5 separate regions of the Homo sapiens genome follow, and regions 1, 2, 4 and 5 are each linked to region 3. The links are contacts of gene promoters, found by promoter capture Hi-C in human tissues and cell types (Jung and others, 2019). All regions are on one chromosome and are shown on one strand. The core of a region is centred on a gene start or on the middle of the fragment in contact, and the rest is flanking DNA. Distances in the headings are between cores, read along the strand shown.

Evidence for each region. The method cuts DNA at HindIII sites, captures the fragments that hold promoters and counts their contacts. A contact is called where the count stands out against the background at its distance.
Region 1: a contact is called between a fragment that was not itself captured here and the fragment with the promoter of METAP1 in region 3, in 1 of the 25 tissues and cell types used here (hippocampus).
Region 2: a contact is called between a fragment that was not itself captured here and the fragment with the promoter of METAP1 in region 3, in 1 of the 25 tissues and cell types used here (dorsolateral prefrontal cortex).
Region 4: a fragment that was not itself captured here is called in contact with the fragment with the promoter of METAP1 in region 3 in 1 of the 25 tissues and cell types used here (hippocampus).
Region 5: a contact is called between a fragment that was not itself captured here and the fragment with the promoter of METAP1 in region 3, in 1 of the 25 tissues and cell types used here (spleen).

The regions. Positions count from the first base shown.
Region 1 is chr4:98,293,359-98,296,578 of GRCh38, forward strand. It overlaps RAP1GDS1 (Rap1 GTPase-GDP dissociation stimulator 1), which reads left to right. Exons shown (of 15, transcript NM_001100427.2): 2 at 50-157. Among named protein-coding and RNA genes, the nearest start is that of RAP1GDS1, 34 kb to the left of the region's middle. The HindIII fragment of the contact is 3,026 bases long and covers 372-3,220 here.
Region 2 is chr4:98,383,475-98,386,296 of GRCh38, forward strand. The region is part of intron 5 of RAP1GDS1 (Rap1 GTPase-GDP dissociation stimulator 1); the gene reads left to right. Among named protein-coding and RNA genes, the nearest start is that of RAP1GDS1, 120 kb to the left of the region's middle. The HindIII fragment of the contact is 5,575 bases long and covers 1-2,822 here.
Region 3 is chr4:98,994,128-98,997,136 of GRCh38, forward strand. It overlaps METAP1 (methionyl aminopeptidase 1), which reads left to right and starts at 1,594. Exons shown (of 11, transcript NM_015143.3): 1 at 1,594-1,740. The coding sequence starts at 1,627. RefSeq lists enhancers at 1,036-1,085, 2,007-2,789 and silencers at 1,326-1,645, 1,806-2,265. The HindIII fragment of the contact is 14,445 bases long and covers 1-3,009 here.
Region 4 is chr4:98,206,496-98,209,712 of GRCh38, forward strand. No RefSeq gene overlaps it. Among named protein-coding and RNA genes, the nearest start is that of RAP1GDS1, 53 kb to the right of the region's middle. The HindIII fragment of the contact is 5,877 bases long and covers 1-3,217 here.
Region 5 is chr4:99,967,782-99,970,557 of GRCh38, forward strand. All of the region lies in intron 1 of H2AZ1-DT (H2AZ1 divergent transcript), which reads left to right. Among named protein-coding and RNA genes, the nearest start is that of H2AZ1-DT, 19 kb to the left of the region's middle. The HindIII fragment of the contact is 4,750 bases long and covers 1-2,776 here.

The sequences.
Region 1 (3,220 bases), core at 635-3,134, 700 kb before region 3:
TATGGTGGTCATAAGGTTGAGTTTCTGATTTTTTTTTTTCTTTAAGCAGATAATCTCAGTGATACCTTGAAGAAGCTGAAGATAACAGCTGTTGACAAGACTGAGGATAGTTTAGAAGGATGCTTGGATTGTCTGCTTCAAGCCCTGGCTCAAAATAGTAAGTTTCATTATGTTTACTCAAATTCCAAAGAAGAAAATCAAATCAGTAGTCATTCAGAAACTGGTATGTAGTTAAGCACATAACTTTGTATTCATATAACTTGAATTCTTTTGAATCATATCCCTGAATACTGAGATTGTTTTACATGTTCTACCCTCCTACTTCCCTCCACGCCCCCGCAAGATCCTCAAAGCCAAGCTGATAGGCAAAGAAAGGAGGAATTGATGGGTGGTGATGACATTAATACCAGTCCCAGAGAGAGGCCATTGTTTCATTTCTAACAGTCAAGCATCGTAGTTGTTTTTCTTAGCACCTACATCTGTGCTTTAAAAATAGATTGTTTTATATGTGGGGAGAGTGGGGAGGGAGAGAGAGGAGAAACAGAGGGGGAGCTTAAAACACTTAACATTTTTTTGGAATCTTATCATATTTTAAAATAATTGTACCTTAAAATAATATGTATGCATAGATAAATTTGGAAGGAACCATTAGAAGTCATCAAAAATCTTTTGAAATTGGGGTAGGATTTTATCTTTGATGTGATAAATAATGCTAGAGATAGAAACTGCACAGTTCTTCATTGACCATTGTGTTGCATTTTATTTATCCTATTTCTAGTCACTAATTTCTGTATTATCACCATTAATAGATCAGTATAGAGTGATTTTCATTTGTTATCTTAATTCTGCTTGGTTGTGCTGTGGTTTTTTCTGTACTTGTTTTTAATTATGCTCTTGTCCTATCCTGAAACTAATTATGTAGCTGACAAAGAATGGAGGGGAACGTATATATTGTTAAGGTTTTAATTGTAAGGTTTCAACACTTATTGATATATGTTTTTTTTATTTTTTAGTAAACCTTGATTAGAAAAATCTAAAATAATTGATTGCAGTACTTTTCATCAAAAAAGCACATTTTAGAGCTAGCTTTTAAAATTATTTTTCAGTAATTATTTTAGATTACAACTGTCATGCTGTTTAATCATAGAGATAACAGGAAGAGATTTGAAACAAGGAGTTCAATAAGAGCATCCAGATAAGGCTCAAAATGGTAAAGAAAAAGGACAGGAAAGGAGAACGTCTAAGCCTGCTATCCATTTTAGTGGACACATGTGGCTATTTAAATTTAATACAAGTAAATAAAATGTAAAAGGAAGTTCCTTAGTCTCACTTCTCAGTAGTTATATTTGGCAGATGACCACTCTCTTGGGGATCACAGATATAAAATATTCCCATGATCACAGAAAATTCTTATGGATAGCACTGGTCTAGAAACTAGGAAGAACCACACGATGACCTGATTTTTTTTTACATGTGCCTGTATAGGCAGCTTTACACAGTAACATAATTAACCTAAGTAAATTGAGTATCTCAGGTATATTTTTTTGAACAGTTGTTTTATTATAACCTTCGTCTGTTTTCAGCAACACTTTTTTTCTCTGTTAGACAGTAAACTTTTAAATAGACCATTTGCTTTAGATACTGAAGGACATGAAGGGTCATATTCTTGGTCATCTGTAGAGGTTGCCCATTTGTCTCCTAGGAAGACTGGAAGACAAAGAGATGAAGTTGAAGGGAAATGAAGAAAAAAGGGAGTAAAAAGTGTATAGCTTTTAAAAGAACAGATTTAAGAAACACTGAGAAGTTCATAATTATTAGATTAAATTAGCTTACATTAGAATAAGCCCATTGCGGACTTATTCACTGTACCTTTTGTTGAAAATGGTCTTGTGAAATTGTGTATCACAAAATGTTAAGGCCACGTAACCACAAGGTATTAAAACAATAAACTCTCACCAATTTAACTAATGATGCCCCAGGAAGGGAACAAAAGGAATGTCTTGTTAACAATCTGAAACAAAATTTATAAATGCCCTCAAGCCTAAGACTACTGACAAAGAAGAATTGGAAAAAGGAGTTCATGCAGATGTTCAGTCTTTGACACCTGTCATTGGATCACTTACTGTATGTTTAGCACTGGGCTGGGGATTATAGCCACTATCTAATCTTTCCTATAGTCCCATGAGGTAGGTATTATTATCACCATTTAAAGGATGAGGTAACAGATTAATAAGCTTATTTGCCTTGCTCTGGAAGAAGCCAGAGTTTGGATTTGAACTCTTGATTTACAAAATAAAAAATTGTAATCTGAATAAAGTGAAGCTTTTTGCTGAGTTCATGTAATGTGAAATCATTCCAAGAAGCTAGGTTTTAACATTGTGTTTTAAATTTTTGTTTTTTCTTTAATAAAAATAGCTCTAAATTTTTATTAAAGTGGATAAGCCTGTTTTTCTTGAACTATAAAGTGATATATGTATTTTATAGGCATTTATTGATACACTTTATAAAGTCAGCATATGCCTTTTTAACAAGAAAAAGTAAAATATATTAGTGAGATGTTAATTTTCTACAGTTCTTCCTTGAATAAGGTGATTGAGCCATTGCTACTTCTGTCCTCCTAAATGTAAAATTATAAAACATTTAACTTAGAAGAATCTGTACTTGCTTTTTAAACAACAACAACAACAACAACAACAACAAAAACACAGAGAGCTTCTCGTTTCATAATTCTTCCTTAGTGTCAGGTGTTTTAACTAAAAATAACAACTGTACCATAATTGCACCTGATCAGGAAAGAAAGATTTCTCCATTCTGTACAAATATAAGATGGTAATGTATGTAATGGAAATATAAACAAAATTTTATTTTACAGTCTATTACCCTGTTACTGGAAAGGTTATCTCTGAAAGGAACAAAATAATGCTTTTGAAATTTTTACACTGTGTGATTTAGTGCATTTGAATTGCATATTACAAATGACTGTAATCTGAAATTAGAATTTTTACTTTGATGTATGGCTTTAGAGTGGTTTTCTTTTTTTACCATTGGCAGTATTTCTCTCTGTAACGTTTATACTATATGTGTCTATCTTAAGAGACAAGAAGATTTGAATACTTACTAGATTTTATGAAAACATTTTGTTTAAGCAAGCATTTTGTGTAAATCTATGATCTAAATTAATATAAAGTCATTCATTCACTCATATAAATACATCAGATCT
Region 2 (2,822 bases), core at 266-2,765, 610 kb before region 3:
CATTATTGAAAAACTAATTTCTCTTTTTTTGTAGTTCCTGAAATCTCTCTGAGATACCTACATGATAATTCTTATATTTATTTGTCGCATGGGCTGATGATAATTAAGCTATGGTTGAAGGGAGGCCATGTATGTAATTTAGGAAGTGTAACACCTGTGGCATATTATTGAAGCATGACAACTGAGTTTAAATATTAAGCTCATTGTTTAAATTCACTTGTTTAAAAAAGGCCTATACTACTTCTCCCCATATTAAAGATTATTTAATGTGTAATTAATCTTAGCTGCTACTTTCAGTCAATAGCAACAATTTCTTAGTTCATAATTAAAAACTAAAAAGCATGTTGGCCTGAGCTGCATGTTTATCCTTATGTTTCAGTATTACAATACTTTATTACGGGTGAAAAAGAGCATTTCCTAGATGTGTTAGATGTTTAGAAAAATGATTTGCTTCACATGAGTGAAGAACTATTTTTAAACTTTACTTACTGTGGTTACAAGCTAGTTAATAATTTATATATTTCCTAAATAGTAAATTATTTTTACCTTACTCTAAGGAAAAAGAACAAAACAATATGTAAAAGGTAAAATTGTATCTTTGCAATTTATTATCTTTTTTAAAGTTTTTCTTCTTTCTCAGAGATCCTTGTTCTGATACTGTCTTTTTTAATGAAACTAATTTTCCATCATACTACCTTACATGTATTTTATTTTTCCTCTATTTATGAAGACATGGGAGATGTACATTTAAGTTAACATCTTTTGAAGCCCAGTTTGTCACTTTTTACTCCAGTGAGTTAAATGAAGTGTGTTGAAGACTTATTGGGCAGCTGAAAAGTACTTAGGCTTTTTTATTCTTTCTTTATTATACTAACTGTTGTTCTTTATTTACTGTTGTTCTCTTTTTTAAAAATTCCTGAATTTTTGCTGTTTGTCCAACAGCTTTCTAGTCAGTTTGCTGAAAAAGGTTGCTTTCATAAAGTTCTACCACAAGTGTTATTTTAAACAAATTGTTTCACTAAAGAATAGAGCAGTTAGTTAGTCTGGTGCCTCTTGCTAATTCAACCTATTAAATTTGACCAATTAGACCAGGTTAGCTTTTAGTGATAATCTTCCTAGACTATTTCTATGATAATGCTGTTACTTAATGAACAGGCTGAGAGCTTGATTTTCAGTAGAGGTGTATCAGATACACATTTTGGTCTAATTCCACATGATCAAGTATTGGCATTTATATTCAGCTTTGGCCATTAGAGAATGAACTTCTGAATGTAAGAAGCTGAAATTTTATCTTAGAAAAATAAAATTATTATAGTCTTTTTGTCAGTAATTTTAGCAGTCTAATACTTAAAATTTGGCATTATATTATTACAGGAATAATACTTTCTCAGCATTGTTAGCTTCTAGATTGCTACTGCGATTATGATAATGCATTTAATATCATAATACCACATAGATGCCCACTTAGTTGAGGGCAGTGAAAGGGCAAAATATGTTTGGAGTTGCTCATTCTTTAGTATGGTTTTCTCATTTTTATTTGCTTTATGTCTGGATTGAAGATTAATCATAGCCGTTATCAAATATTATTTTCAAGATTTTTCTCATTGTGAAAATTTGAAGTGGAAAAATTGGTTTTCTGATTTTGATTTCATCCTTACAAGATGTATATCACCATTAATTATTGGTGCATTTTAATATAATAATATGCATTTACATTTCAACTGATAGAATTTCAACATATAAAGCATATAGGCAAATTTTCTCTTTACATGAAATGCTTACCTATATTTAAAAATAAATATTCAGATAGTAACAAGTCTGAAAGACCAGGTCTTTACTGTAAGTGTTCCTATACTAGTTGAAATATGATGATATGAGGCACATAATCATTGATCATGCACAAATTTTTAGGTTCCAGAAATGATGTTGAAGTAAGCATTGAGCTGTTTGGCCTTTCAAAAGCTGAGGCTAAAATCAGAGGTAAATAATAGGTTTTAGCCAGATATCTGTATTTGCGTGTCTAATTTAGGCCATTTACAAAGTCCATTCAGAGAGGCGCTGAACCCAGAAAAGCATCATGTGTAAATTAACTTTTATGAAGATTATTAATCCTGTTTTTTTAACTATAAGTAAAATCCAGTTAATACTGTACTGCCTATATTGTTTTATTTACTAAAAAATTTTTAAGTCCTACTTGAAAAACTAGAAAGTGAAATGCTTTTGAATATGCAGATGTATCTTGTTAACAGAATTTTTGCCTTGCAAATAACTTCTGTGCAATTTTAAACTGTAAAAACTAAATTACAATAATGCCCCATGGTAACTAGAAAAGTTTTTTTTAAGCTAATATATTCTTTTGTAAAAGAAGGGATTTCTATGTTTTTAAGCATATGTTTGTAAGATACACGTTGGAATATAAATTAATTTGGCATTAGCTTAACTTGCTGTACAAAAATTCAGGCTTAAATTTATACTTACTGTAGATGTGGTCTTTATCTCAGCAGTGCTGTATGAAAGCAGAGACTGAATTGGTTTCTCTTAATAAATGCTGCTTAAGCAACAGCTGGCAGTAGTCCTCTTTAAAAAAAAAAAAGACATTTAACTTAAAAGACCAGTTTTTTTCTGAGATGAAAGCGTAGAGTTTTCTTTAATCAGAATAAACATATCTATAGAATTTTTTTGTAGCAGTATTCATTGTAACAAAAGTTGATCTGTAACAAATAATTAACCTGTAGTAAATATGGGGAAAAATTATCTACTAGATTAAGGCATAATCACTCTAGTTGTCATTATATTGAGAACAGTAAATGAATAAGTTTCTT
Region 3 (3,009 bases), core at 344-2,843:
ACAAAAAGTTGACATCATAGTAACTGAAGAAATCAGGTAAGTAAATTACTTTATATGGTATGGTGCAGTTTTTATTTAAAAAATATTTTATACATACATACATACTTATTGATTTTTTTCTTGTATACAAAAGTATATGTATGTATGCATGTAAACATTTCTATTACTTGATTTTATTACATCATTTTTACTGCTTATATTGCAAAACTAAGTTTTTTTTTTTTTGAGACATGGTCTTGCTCTGCCGTTTGGGCTGGAGTGCAGTGGCAGGATCATAGCTTACCATATCCTTGACTTCTCAGGTTCAACAGATCCTCCCAGCTCAGCCTCCTCAGTAGCTGGGACTACAGGCGCCTGCCACCATGCCCGGCTAATTTTTTAGTTTTTAGTTTTAGTTTTTGTAGAGACGGGGTTTTGCCATATTTCCACCCTGGTCTCGAACTCCTGGCCTCAAAGAATCCGCTGGCCTTGGTGCCCTGGATGCCCTGGCCTCTCAAAGTGCTGGGATTGATTACAGGCGTCAGCCACCGCTCCTAGCCAAAACAAAGTTCTTAAAAATAAAAGTAGTATGAGCTTTTCTGGTGTATTAAGTACGGAGAAGTTAAAAAAATACAATAACAAAGTTCACAGCCTTTTGTGATCAGTAAATGTTAGTTTTTCGCTCTTCCCTAGTGACAAGGAGGCACTCAAGCATGAGTTACAACACAACCGACCTGGAATACAGCTGAAAAGATTGAAGCAACAGGTTCGCAGGGGAAGGCCTTTACAGCTTCTTTCGACTCTGACATTTCAGGATCAGCACAATTCTCCCCTATTTACTGCTGAAGCAATCAACTGGGATTATACAAAAAAATTATTTGTATTGAATACCTGACAGTTGTGTTACTATTACTAGCACTATCGGTTTTGAAGGGGAGGTGGTGGTGTGTGGAAAAAAAAAGTCTGGCAGGAGGGAGGGCAGATGTGAATCCCAGCCCACCGTCCCGTTGACAGCTCTATGGCTCTCCTTTCTGTGAATGAGCGGTGGTCCTTAGGCCTCAGACCCGACAATGTCAGTGAGAAACAGAACTTAACCCAAGGGACTGTTCTCCAAGGAGCGGCGGGGGAATCCAACGCAGAGGAGCGCAGCGCCCTCTCTAGCCTCCTGCGGGTGTCGGGGATGATCAGGGCTCCTGGGTGTTCGTCAGTGAAGACGACTGTCTTATCTGACTGTAGGCACAGAGAGTGCGCCGCGAGAGGGCGGCTCCTCACCGTCAGGCGCCGGCAGGTCGCGTTCTCTGCTGGCCGACGCCCGAAGGCGCCGAATGGGGGGGCCCTGCCGAGCTCCCTTACAGCCCCAATGTGCGCGCCGCCGGGAGGCTTGGGCACGCAGGCACCGCCGGCGGGGGGCGGGGCGAAGCCGGCGGGGCGGGGCACCAGCTGCGCGCGCGGGGCGGGGGCGGGGCCGGGGCGGGGCGCGCTGCGTGGTCCCGGCCGGCCCTGGCTCCTCCCCCTCCCGCGCCCAGGCCAGCGGCGGGCCCAGCTCCTCCCCCGACTCGGTCTCTCTCCCCTCCCCTCCGCCCGGCAGTTCCTCCCTCCCGCCGCCGCCTCTTCCTCGGTGAGGCGCTCTTCCAGCGGGCAGGCAGCATGGCGGCCGTGGAGACGCGGGTGTGCGAGACAGACGGCTGCAGCAGTGAGGCCAAGCTCCAGTGTCCCACTTGCATCAAGCTGGGCATCCAGGGCTCGTACTTCTGCTCGCAGGTAGGCGCCCGCTGCCCCGCGGATATGCCGCCGCTGCGGGACCCCTCCTCGCTTCTCCCCTGCTGGCTCCTCCCGCCCTTGCGGCGAGTCGGGACGCGCTCCTCCTCTTCCCCCCGGCCGCGTTTCCTCCTCCCCCCACCCGCGTCGCCACCGCCCCCTCCTGCCTCCTGGGGTCCCTGGGTCCTCGGGAACCGCGCTGGGCTCACGCGGGGGCGGGGGCGCCACCCGCCGCGGCCATGTGGGCTGGGGCGGAAGCGGGCTGTGCGGGGTCGCGTGGCCGCGCTAGACCTCCGCGTTCTGGGGCCGGTTCCCCGCGCTGGGGCGGGGGCCGCCAGGTGTGCGGGCTGCCGGAGGCAGGTAGCGGCGCCGGGAAGGAGGGCAGCCCGAGCGTCGCGAGCCTCCACATCCGCAGCACCGGCGGGGCTCGGGTCTGGGCGCTGGAGGCGCCGGGCCGTCCGTCGGGTCCCTGCGGGGTGGGGGGCTGAAGCTACCTGCCGGGCTCTGAGAGATGGGTGGCCCGAGGACCGTCGGAGTCGCAGAGAGGAGGAACGCTAGCTAGCTCCAGCCCCACTTCTTTGTGCTTTACTACCGTGCTTTGACACTTAAGCAACTTTGGGGGTGGGGAAGGGAGAGGTCTGTGTAATTCATTCTTTTCTTTCGGTATATAAAATTATTAATTTACAAAACTGTAAGCTAACGGGATGAGTCACCTGTGACTGAATTTCCCAGAGTGAAAAGGACAGTTCCATTGAGGGTTAGGCGTGAATGCTGTAGTGTATTTTAAGTTTTGTGCAGTAGAGCAAACCCAGCGTTGAATGGGGTCCAGACTGAAGCGTGTGCTCGTGTTTCTGTTTACTGAAGAGTACTAGTGTTGCTGCTGCATTTCGAGACCCAGGATGAGGGCTGGGCGGCAATAGTATGGCTCTTAGTTACAGTCCAGGTTTAGTGAAGAGAGGCACATGAATATTCAAATATTAAATTGGTAGCGTCCTGTGGGGAGGAGAGCCGGAATAAAGAGAAGGCCTGATTGGGGCCCTGCCCTTGCCAGTTATTGTGCGATCTTGAATTAGTAAAGTTACTTAATCTTTCTGAGTTCCAGTGTTACACTGTACAGAGGGGATGATTATAGCTTTCTTTGTAAGTTTCACAAGCTTCTTCTGAGACCCAGATTATCCAAGGAACGTGAAATGCTGTTATAATGTAAAGTCCTTTATTTTTTAAAGGATTCTAGTACGATTTAACTCTGCCATAAATAAAAATATGAATAAG
Region 4 (3,217 bases), core at 305-2,804, 790 kb before region 3:
AGTGTAGGCAGACAATAAACCAATAAGAATGTATAGCAGAGTTTCTCAACCTCTGCAGTATTGACATTTAAGAATGGATAATTCTTTGTGTGAGAGGCTGTCCTGTGCATTGTAGGATGTTTAACAGCATCCCTGGTCTCTACCCACTAGATGCCCATGGTAGCAATCACCCTCCCCACTTGTGAAAACCAAACATATTTTTAGATATTGCCAAATACCTCTCTCCCCTGTTGACAACCACTGATATATGGATAACATTTCAGGTAGAGTGTTATGAAGAAGAATAAAGGTGGGTGAGAAGAGACAGAATGAGGGAGGCATAGGCAACTTTCAGTGGGATGGTAAGGTAAGAGCTCTCTGAAAAGTTGGCACCAAGCAGTGAGCTGAAGTGAGTGAGCCACGCTGCTACAGAGGGAAAAGAATTCCAGGCGGAGGGAACATCAAAAGCAAAGAACCTGAGACATGAACATGTCTGACATGCTTGATGAATAGTGAGAAAACCAGTATAGTTGGAGCAGAGGGAAAAGGAGTGGGATTGAAAGATAAGGTCAGAGAGGACGTCAGGAGCCAGTCTTTTAGGGTCTTGTAGAACACAGTAAGAACTATGAACATTACTTTGGATAAAATGGAAAACCATAGGAGGGTTTTGAGAGAAGATGGATGTGGTCTATCTTATTCCTCTATTTTAAAAAAGGAATAAAAATAGCTGAGAATCTTATTAAAAAATAATCAACCAGTTGCAATTAATTCGAAAGACTTTTAAAAATTGATATACCACCTTTCTCACTTAGGACATTAGCAAAGAATTGGAAGTTGAAATACCCAGTCATGGGGAAACTTTCGGGAAACAGGCACATTCCTCTGCATTAATGGATGTAAATTGGTACAATTTCTTTGAAGGACAAATTGTCAATATCTATCTCTCTCTCTATCTCTCTCTCTCTCTCTCTCTCTCTCTCTATCTATCTATCTATCATCTATCATCTATCTAGTTTTTTTGTTGTTATTGACAAGGTCTCACTCCGTCACCAATGCTGGAGTGCAGTAGTGTGATCACGGCTCACTGCAGCCTCAACTTCTCCGGGTTCAGGTGGTTCTCCTACCTCAGCCTCCCAAGTAGCTGGAACTATAGTCATGTGCCACCATGCCTGGCTAATTTTTGTATTTTTTGTAGAGAGAGGGTTTCACTATGTTGCCCAGGCTAGTCTCAAATTCCTGGCCTCAAACCATCCCCCTGACCTTGGCGACCAAAAGTGCTGGCATTAATGGCATCAGCCACCCCAGGCCCAGACAATTTTTTTTTCTTTGAAACAGGGTCTCACTCCAGCTCAGGCTGGAATGCAGTGGTGTGATCATGGCTCACTGCAGCTGCAACCTCCTGGGCTCAAGCAATCCTTCCACCTTAGCCTCCTGAGTAGCTGGGACCATAGGCATGCAACACCATACCTGGCTAATTTTTTATTTTCTGTAGAGACAGGGTCTCACTATGTTGCCTAGGCTGGTCTTGACCTCCTGGGTTTAAGAAATCCTCCCACCTAGGCCTCCCAAGTGTTGAGATTACAGGCATGAGCCACCACACCAGGCCTGTTAGAATTTAAAATTTTAAGTGTTAAAATGGACACAGTAGGCCAGCAGGGCGCAGAGGTTCATGCCTGTAATCCCAGCACTTTGGGAGGCCAAGGTAGGAGGATCATTTGAGCCCAGGAGGTGGAGGTTGCAGTGAGCCGAGATCCAGCCACTGCATTCCAGCCCAGGTGACAGAGCAGGACCCTGTCTTAAAAAAAAAAAAATTGATACAGTAATTACATTTAAAAGGAACTTATACAGATACACTCACACAAATGTGCAAAAAAAAAATATTTATTGCAACATTGTTTGAAAGCAAAAATTGCAATTAGCTCAGTGTTCACTAATATTGAACTGGTTGTAGAAATTACAGCAAATCTGTATAATAGAAATGGTTCAGTAATCAAGAACTTTAAGATAAATCTATATAGGCTGATATGGAATTCTCCAAAAAAAATATTGTTAAAGAAAATAAAGCTTGGTACAAAAGCAGCTAACAGCATGATTCCATTGTTATTTAAAAGAATTTAAAAGGCACATGCATGTTTGCTTTAAGGATATTCAATGTCTTTCTATCTGGTTTCAATTAACTGGTTTGTTCCCTATAATTTTCATTGACCATAATAAAAAATGACTAGTAATGAATGCTCCATTTTGTTTGGATTTTGATTCTCAGGACTATGCTTATTTTGTAGATTTTTACTGGGGAACTTTTCGTGGGTTTTTTTTTGTTTTGTTCTGTTTTTTGTTTTGTTTGTTTGTTGAGGTATTACCTGACTTACATTTACACTTTAATATAACTTCATCATAAATATAATAATTTTTAAAGTAAAAATTCCATATTTCCATGTGGATAGAAAATTCCTGGGAGGATATGTAAGAAACTAGTAACAATGATTTGGAGAGTGGAAGTAGAAGTGAGACGGGGGTGGGGGACTTCACATTTCATTTCATAGCTCTATGTACTTGTTTAATTTTTTATCATGTGCATATTTTCTATAAAATTAATAATTTAAATTAAAACGAGAGAATCTTCCTGAATACCAGTGCCATCATATAAGTGATCCCTACACTAGTGGCCCTGAACTTTTGTCCCCAGGCCTGTCTCCTATTCCTGGCCTAGGATTATCTCTTGAAAAGGATAACAAATTTGGTTTTCTTGGTTTTTATTTTCAGTTCTCTGAGACTCCACTTGCTTTCACTCTGGCTCCTGTTCCTCCTACTTCAGGTAACCATTGCATAATCTAACCCGTAGTCCATCTGTCTGCTTAACTAGCACCCAAACCTGGCCTTCCATAAAAGGGAGTAAGATAAAACTTTCATAAAACTGCCCAATACAGGCAACACTGTCATGCAGGAAATGCTACTGTAATATTTTATGGAAATAGACTTCATTAAGATGCTCAATAACTGCATTACATCCAATTTAGAATTGGTGGTAGTTGTCACGTTTTTGTTTTTGTTTTTGTGTTTGTTTTTGTTTTTGTTTTTGAGACAGGGTCTCTTTCTCTCACCCAGGCTGGAGTACAGTAGTACAAACATAGCTAATTGTAGCCTTGACGTCCTGGGCTCAAGTGATCCTCCTGCCTCAGCCTCCTGTGTAGCTGGGATTACAGGTGCATGCCACCATGTCTGGCTAATTTTTTAAATT
Region 5 (2,776 bases), core at 233-2,732, 970 kb after region 3:
AACATTTAAAAGGCTAAAAAAAGTGGTATAGAGTGAAAATTCTCTCTCCCACTCCTATCCTTCAGTTGCTCAGCAATGTGTTTTCTCCATAGTTTCCCTGATCACCTGCTTTTGTTTACAAAGCTTTTGTTGCTTCCTCTATCTGAAATGTGCTTCAGATAGCTGTCAATTTTTGCACTTTACTTCTTCAAAATATGGCTCAATACTCTCCTTTAGTGAACATTCCCTGAGCCACCATCTCCAAAATTGATCTCTTATTCCCCTTGATTCTGCATCATTGAATATGGTTTGTACCCTGCTTTCTTTAATATACTTTAAATTGCTAATGCTCCTAAATTACTTTCATATTTTCTGGAATGATTTTAGATTTTTGAATAGCCTACAGATTTACAGTGCCTTGAAAGCAAGAAATGACTTTTATTTTATTTTTCCTACGTAGCAGTCTGGATCTATGCAACTAGTTGGTGCCTAGTATCTTCTGTATCCTCAAAAATTATTAACTGGCATTTCTCAAAATTTGGTGCATATCAGAATCCTGGGGCCGAGAATGGAGGGGAGGTGGAAAGTGGGGAGCTTTTGAAACTCGTGAATGGTAGGATTCACCCCATACCAATTAAATCAGAGTCTCTTGGGAGTGAGATTTGAGCATAAACAGTATTTAAAACCTGCTGGATGACTTCAATGCACAGCTATGTTTTAAGAATCAGTGATCTAACCCACTCCCTGCCCTCAATTTCAGTGATGACCTCATTCCATGAGAATCTGCTCTTCCTACCAGTGTTATACAATTCTCCCTGCATCTGCACCCATCTTCTGCTTTTCCCCCACTACAGCTAAGAAAGAGTTCCTCTGCTTCCCATAGGCCTCCTTCCAGCTGCCACATTGTCTTTGCTCCCTTTCACAGAAACCTTTTCATGGGATTTTTCTTTGCAGGTGGTTGTCACTTTTTCACCTCCAAATCTCTCTTCAACCACTTATATTTGACTTTCATTCCCATCAGGCCTCCCAAATGGTTCTTGTCACTGTTAATTGCCATGTTGCCAAACCCAAGGGTCAGTTTTCTTCCTTCTTTTTACCTCTCAGCAGCATGACCACACTTTCCACCAGATACTGCCATTTCTTGACTTCCAGGATACCATATGGTTGCTTCTCTTCTCCTTTTATTGCTTTCTTTCATTTATTTTCTCTTCACTACCTGACTTCAAGATGGCACTTTCCCAGGGCTTGGTCCTAAGCCCTCCTCTTTCTCCACATATTTCCATGTACAACTTTTAAGTAGAGATGATTTCAGATAGTAGATGACTGAAAATTTTTTACCTTTATAGTTAAGTACAGTTGTCTCTGGTTATCTCTGGAGATTGGTTCTACGAACCCCGGTGGATACCAAAATCATCAGATGCTCAAGTCGCTGATATTAAATGTTGTGGTATTTGCATATAACCTATGCACATACTCCTGTGTACTTTAATCTCTAGATTACTTATAATACCTAATACAATATAAATAGTTGATACACTGTATTGTTTAGGAAATAATGACAGGAAAGACATTCAGTACAAACACAATTTGTTTTCCAAATATTTTTGATCCACTGTTGGTTGAATCCATGGATGTGGAATCCACGGATACAGAGGGTCCACTATTTATTTCACCTTGACAGGTAAGCATTAGAAAAGACTACAACCTGAAAATCAAACTCACATTAAGGTTAGAAAGTGAAGAAGAGTGAGTTCAAATAGCAAATCATATGGCAAATTTCAGAAAATCTGCTTTTTACACATCTCTTTTCTTTTCCTAAATTTCTTCTCAAGTTCACAGCTATCTTCACTCTTTCCAAAAGCCTCTATCTATGGTCAACCATTATATCTTCCCCTGGCCCCTTTATAATTTTTCCCCCAATCATACTCTCCAGCCTCTTGGTTCCATTCTCCCCCCTCTTCATTCATCTCTGGCAGAAGCACATCTTGCTGATGAGCTTCCAGATGCCCTGTATTGAAACTGCATATATTACTGAGAAGTTAGGTTTCACTTAACTGGGAAAGCTTCAAAATAGGGAACAAATACCTTGCAAGGAAGCCGTTGAAAATTTGCTGGATATAGAAGAGATACTCTGGGAAAGAAAGAGGTGTGGTAATAAAACAATATACAAATATTTTAAATAATAAAGTCTGTCTTAGACTTGTTGTCTAAGAATCTAGGATAATTCACATTTAAGAATATTGGTATTCTTTGGGAGCCCAGGAGCCCCAAAAGCACCTGGGTCAAGATCAGAGCTGGCATCTTGATCACCAAGTTAACTTATTTTAGCATTACCAATATATAGTCTCTCTAATTATTAGATTTGCATCTCTAAGATTCTAATATAATGGTCCTGATATAAAACTACTATTTTCTAATAGTTCTGTTAGAATCTTTTTATTTTATTTTATTTATTAAATTTGATTTCATTTCTTAGAGACTGGGTCTCACTGTCACCCAGGCTGGAGTGCAGTGGCACAATCATATCTCACTGCAGCCTTGACCTCCCATGCTCTAGTGATCCTCCCACTTCAGCCTCCTGAGTAGCTGGGACTACAGGTGTGTGCCGCCACACTCGAATAATTTTTTTATTTCTTATTTTTTGTAGAAATGGAGTCCCACTATGTTTCCCAGGCTGGTCTTGAACTCCTGGGCTCAAGTGATCCTCCCGCCTCAGCCTCCCAAATTCCTGGGATTACAGGTGTGAACTACTGTTCCTTGTCCCATAGAATCTTTCTAACTCTGACGTAATAAAATA